Regions from separate parts of the Homo sapiens genome. Here region 2 is linked to region 1. Evidence: promoter capture Hi-C in human tissues and cell types (Jung and others, 2019). All regions are on one chromosome and are shown on one strand. The core of a region is centred on a gene start or on the middle of the fragment in contact, and the rest is flanking DNA. Distances in the headings are between cores, read along the strand shown. Region 1 holds the start of EIF4EBP2 (eukaryotic translation initiation factor 4E binding protein 2). Region 2 has its middle 9.3 kb from the start of SGPL1.

The links. The method cuts DNA at HindIII sites, captures the fragments that hold promoters and counts their contacts. A contact is called where the count stands out against the background at its distance.
Region 2: a contact is called between a fragment that was not itself captured here and the fragment with the promoter of EIF4EBP2 in region 1, in 1 of the 25 tissues and cell types used here (heart left ventricle).

What each region holds. Positions count from the first base shown.
Region 1 is chr10:70,402,591-70,405,666 of GRCh38, forward strand. It overlaps EIF4EBP2 (eukaryotic translation initiation factor 4E binding protein 2), which reads left to right and starts at 1,555. Exons shown (of 3, transcript NM_004096.5): 1 at 1,555-1,956. The coding sequence starts at 1,812. RefSeq lists silencers at 1,427-1,616, 1,647-1,856. The HindIII fragment of the contact is 23,735 bases long and covers 1-3,076 here.
Region 2 is chr10:70,805,076-70,808,151 of GRCh38, forward strand. No RefSeq gene overlaps it. Among named protein-coding and RNA genes, the nearest start is that of SGPL1, 9.3 kb to the right of the region's middle. The HindIII fragment of the contact is 4,615 bases long and covers 1-3,076 here.

The DNA.
Region 1 (3,076 bases), core at 305-2,804:
CTCAGAGTCTTTCAAGGTTAAACTCAGCCCTCTGCAACTCTGGCAGCTTCCAGATGGCAGGACAGGCAGGGGACTTTTTTTTCTGGATTCTTGGGGCACTCACCACAAAATCAGTACCATGTAATGCCCTGGCCTGCCCTGGGCTGTTGTAAGTTCTTTTGTCTATGTTCTTGCCAAGCACCTGTTTGACCCTCTGAGCAGTGAAGCAATAGCTGTTTTCCCCTCAACCTCTCTTACCCTTATTTCTCTCATTTGCAAAATGGGAATGATGGTAGCTATGTTGGCCTTACCCATGAGTGTCTTCCCAGTCCCACCTTGGGCATGTTGTGGGCAGAAGTAGTGCTGCCCTAGTGCAGCGGTTCTCAAAGTGTGATCTGGAGAGCCCCTCGGGGATCTGAGACAACCTTCTTTTCTAACTACATACCTGTGTGAGGCTGGGTTTTCTTCATATAGTTGAATCAACACATTACAACAGCTTGAACACAGAAACAGATATGAGAATACAGCTGTTTTCTATTAAGCCAGATATTAAAGCGTTTGCAAAAATATAAAATAATGCCACTGTTCTCACTATTTGTTTTAGATAATTAAAAAATATAATGTCAACATGTAATAGGTTATTATTTTATGAATTAATAAACATTTAAAACATTCTCAGTTTTAATTTGTTTTTTGTTGTTGTTGTTGTTGTTGTTTTTTAGAGACAGGGCCTCACTCTGTTGCCCAGGCCGGAATGCAGTGGCTATTCACAGGTACAATCCCACTAGTGATCAGCAGCGGCTCAGTTTTAATTTCTAATACAATAATTATCAATACATATAATCCACACAAACAAAAGCTCTTGGAAATCCTCAATAATTTTCAAGAATGTAGAGGTACTGAGACCCAAAGTTTGAGAACCCCTCGAGGAAAGAATAGAGTTCCAGATCTAGATTTTTCAGGTACCTCATGGTCTAAGCCCTCTCCTGTGCCTCATTTTAACTCTAATACAATAATACTCATTCTTGTTGCCATGAGTGGCTCTTGGTTTCTTCCTTTTCCTAATGTTTAGATCTTGCTTTATGTGTGTATATAGTGATGGTCTTTGGAAGGATACACAATTAACTGGTACAGCGGTTGAGGGGAGTTCGGAAACTGGGAGAAAGTGGCACCATAAACCTTTCTGCTCTGTTTGATTTTTAAAATACAGTACATCGTGCATGTAGTGCCTGAATTAATAATGAACAATTAAAAGTAAAATTACATTTTTAATGCATAGGAATGCATGAGAAACTCAAGTCTGCTCAAGTAAAGTGGTGTTAACCGACAATGACAAACAATAAGAAGAAAGTTTTCCTTGTCCGCCTTCACCAGGCTCACAAACACTTAGCTCGCGCTCCCTCTGGCTCTTCTCCCGCTCGCTGGGGTTAAGCCACTCTCTTCCTCAGCCCTGCCCCTCGTCCCCGCCCCCTTCAACAACTTCAGCCACGCCCCTCACTGCCTCGCCCCGCCCCGCGGCGACGTCACCTCCGGCCGACCAGCTTCCCCAACTCCCTCTGGCTCCCGCCTTCGCCCGCTTCCGGTCGTCGTCGTCGCCGCTGCTGCCGCTGCTGTTGCTCCTGAGGCTGCTGGCTGAGGCCGGAGGATCGAGCGGCGGCGGCGGCGGCGGCTGAGAGGGCGGCGGCGGGAGCGGAGCGGGACGAGGGAACGGGAGGAAGCGAGCGAGGAGCGCGCAGAGCGCGCTTTTCCGTCCGCCTGAGGAGCCGAAGCAGCCCCGGCCCCGCCGCCGCCGCCTGCCCGCCGGACAAAGCCGAGAGCCCGCGCCCACAGCCATGTCCTCGTCAGCCGGCAGCGGCCACCAGCCCAGCCAGAGCCGCGCCATCCCCACCCGCACCGTGGCCATCAGCGACGCCGCGCAGCTACCTCATGACTATTGCACCACGCCCGGGGGGACGCTCTTCTCCACCACACCGGGAGGTGAGCGCCGGCCAGCCGTCCGCCGCGCCCGGTGTCCCGCCGCGGTCCTCTAACTCCTCGGCGCCTCGGTGCCCGGCCGCTTCGCCCCCGCCCCCAGCTCCACCGAAGCCCCGGGGACGCTGCCCTTGGGCCCGCCCGAGCGTTCGGGACCCTTTACTTCGTGTTCGCTCTTGCCCGCAGCTCGAGTCGGCGCGCGCCCCACTCGGGAATGTGGCTGTCCTGTCGCGAAAAAGAGCTCTTGTTTCCGCTTCGTGGCAGGCTTACGCATTCGACCCAGTTCTCTCTCTCCTCTCTGCCTCCTTCCCGGGCGGATTTGGCTCCACTTGGCCTTGCATTACAGTCTGCATTGCCTGTCGTAGATTGTGCAAATTAATGCTTGATTTTGGAGCTGGCTCCGGGGCTTTTTAAAAAAGAACTTTGGGAGAGGAATTCGGCCCTGGCATCCTGCGATGGCTTGTTTTTGCTGCTTTTAGAACACCGGGAGGAGGCTGGAATGCGGAGTCTGGAAGCCTCGCCCAGCGTTATCCCGCTTTGACAGCATTGTTTACTTTGCTGGACGAGGCCCCACGGGTGAGGGGAGTCCCCAGGCCGGGAGGAGAGCGTGATAAAATAAAGCTCAAGTAATAGCCAAGGGAAAGTAGGTGGGGGTGGTAGGGTGCTGACAGCCTTAAGGTAGGGTGTCTTTCGGCAGCGACGCCTTTGGAAATGGATTGAAGGACCTTTGTCAAGGACACCCCAGTTGGGTGGGGTGGTTGCTTGATCCTGTGGAAGGGGCTAGAGAGAGGCAATCCAGAGAGAGGGTGGTTCCCTGGCATTGCTTTTCAAAGCATGACCAGGAACTGTTTACAAATAAGTAATACTGGGGTAGAGGTGAAGCTTGGTCACGGGAAGAGAGCTCAAAGGTTGTCTGTGCCCTAACTGGGCTGTCCTCCAGAGGGAGGAGCCTGGAAAGCGATTTTGAGGAGCCTTATTGAAGGGAACGGGGCCTCCTTTTTAACTTCAGAACTTTGTCTTCTTTTGGTGCTGGGGTGGCCTCTTGCTAGAGGGTGGGGACTTCGCAGCTCCTGCGGTCTAGAGGATTGCTAGCCTTGTTCCTGTGGGCAGGGCTCAGGAGCTGTAC
Region 2 (3,076 bases), core at 352-2,851, 400 kb after region 1:
CTTGAGGGAGCCAGAGAAATTAAGACTTAATGTGCTAAGTGTTAGGGAAATGGAGACACAGGAAAAGAGAATTCGAGCCTACCTAGGGGTCTTGGGGAAGGTTGCAAAGTAGACCAAGGAGAGAAGGATGTTCCAAGAAAAGGGAATAGCACATGCAAAAGTCTGGAGCTATAAAAGCCCAGGGCATGTTATGGAAACTCTAAGTTGTTCTAGATGGCTAGGGAGACTAGAAGACTCAGATTGTTAGAACAGACCAATTTATGCTTGTTGTCCCAGAAAACTTAATAATATGTCCTTAGTTTCAAAAGTATCCCAGATAGTCACTGTGAGTATAGTTGGGACATAAAGTCTGAGAGTGAGGTGGAAATGGGGGAGATGAAGGTGGAGAGAAGCAGCGGCTGATCGTAGAGGTCACTGTGGCCAAGTTCAAGAAAGGCATTCAGTTAACTGGGCTTCTTATGGTGTCTTTCCCTTCAAGGTTATCTTCTCCAGATATGATCTGATTCACAGATAGATCAATACAGCCACTGACAGATGATTATTGCTATGGGCTACCATTTACGGAGCGCTTACCAGGTAAGTGCTTTCCATGTAGGCTGGGGTGAGGCCCAGGTAACCTCTGCTGACTTAGTTATGCTTGTCCTTTAACTGATTCTCTGCCAGTAGGCCTTGGGTTTTGACTTGTTTTTACTGTTGTGAGGTCATGTCCTGAGACAACATTGGGCAAGTCCCAAAGGGCCTTCTGTTCCCAACTAGAAACTTTGTAAGCTTTCCCTGGAGGGGGACAGCTGAGGTCAGGAGATGGCTACTAGCTATAAACAGTTTGTTTTAAAGGACTTGTATGATGTCTGTATTGAAGGGATTCATATGAATATTCAAATGAAATGAGTTGAGTTTGTTCTAAGATGATGCAGTAGCTAGGAATGTTGAGTTAGATGTTTGGATGGGCAGCCAGGGCACATGGTTTAAACATTTGACGCACTTGAATTCAATGGATAGTGGATAGCAAGAGTGGGCATTTGAAATATGTCTGAGTGAGTGGTTTCCTCTGCAGCACCTCCTGCAACAGCTGTCCCTAAGTGGCAGGTGTGGGTTTATACCCTAAAACTGAATGTAGCAGTGCCCTCAAGCAGACCCACAAGGACTAGCTTGAGGCTGCTTTGTCTCCCAGAAAGACAGTTGGCAGCAGCTATTGGAGGGCTCTGCAGGCTTCCAAGTCCCCACCACTGCCCCAACACTTGGGTGGTCAGTGGGCACATGAGGCCACTGAGAATGGTCATGTCACCCTGCCCTTCCCATTCCTCCATTGCCAACCTACTGAGGTTTGGGGCTAGCGTGAGAATCTATTTGTGTTAGCTTGCTAATCAGGCTGTTGTAACAAAGTGCCACAAACTGGGTGGCTTGCACAACAGAAATGGATTGTCTCCCATTTCTGCAAGATAGAAGTCTGAGATCAAGGTGTTGGCAGGGCTGGTTCCTTCTGAGAGCTATGAGGAAAAACACGTTTCATGGCCCTCTCCTAGCTACTGGTGGTTTGTTGGCAACCTTTGATGGTCTTTGGCTTATAAAGTCATCACTCTGATTGCTACCTTCATTTTCACATGGTGCTCCCCCTCTATGCATGTCTGTCCAAATTGCCCCATTTTATAAGGACACCAGTCATATTAGGCTAGGGGTGCACCCTATTCCAGTAATACTTCATCTTAACTCATTACATCTGCCATGACCCTATTTTCCAGTAAGGCCATATTCACCACATGGATTGTTGGGGGACACAGTTCAACCCATAGCACTTAGGATAAATTGAAATAGCATCAGCATGAACACAATTACTCTACTGGTTACTTCTGCCAAACAACCTTCAAGTCAGAAAGAATCCTGTGGTTAAGGGAGAGGTACCGCAATCCAGCTGCAACAAGTTAAAGGTGTAGCCCACTAGCTATGGGTTAGTTTGCCCTGAGCTCTGAATGTGACTTCTTCCCTGGGAATCTTGGCTTGAGGGCACATGTGGGAGCCTGCTTGCCAGGCACAGGGTAGCCTGTGGCTTTGGGAGTCTTGTTTTAATCTGTTCTGTCACTTTCCAAAGGTCTGTCTTCTAAGCTTATGCCATTGTTGTACCCTAGAACCAACTATTTTCATTCTTTGCTGAGTACCTTTTCTGCCCATATGAATTCTCTCCTAGCCATTCTCCATACCACGCAGACGGATTGTTCTAAAACACAAATGTGATATTGTCAGTCCCTTGACTGAAAAGACCTCAACGGCTGTTGCTCTTTGGATGAAGATCAAAACACTGTTTCCTACAGGACTGGGAGGTCTCAGACAGGAGGATTGCCATCTGCATTTGCATTTATTTAAAAAACAATTGAACTGGTGACATTCTGTTTCTTGATCTGGGTGGTGCTGAACAATGGTGTTCACTATGTCAATATTCATCTAGCTCTACACTTTGATTTGTGGACTTGTCTGTACATACAATGTATCCCAATTTTAAAAAATCTTCAAAACAACTGAATGAGTTGCCCAAAGTTCTGGGAGTTCCTTGGTCGTATTACACTTTATGATCTTTTAGATCTCTTGACCAATACCATACAACTAGAGATTTTTTTCCCCCTTTCTATCTTGGGAGGAAAAAGATGGAATTAACAAACAGAGGTGATTCAGTGAGTTACATTGTGGTCACAAGATAAATTATGCACATTGCGACAAGAAAACCACATAGTCCTATAAAATTATGGGCTGTTTTTATCCAGAATTATGCTGGCTTTCTATTTCCTGTTGTTGATTAAGAATAAAGAGGGACCTGCCTGTTGCCCCTGCCTGCAGCGCCTAGAGGAGAGAGAGAAGTCATGATCAGCCTCATTTCTGCCCCAGGGACTGCATTATTCCCCTTTGAAGCAACAGTGCTTCCCCTAGAGCTTGGTCAAGGAGAGGGGCTGCAGGCAACCCCTGTGTCTGCCCCAAGAAAATGGGAGTTCTGAGCAACTTGGGTGTATGGAAAAAGGAAGCACTCTCCACAGATGGCTGAAAAGCATTGTTGGTAACATATGAAGCTTGAGTCTAGGGGTAAATGACA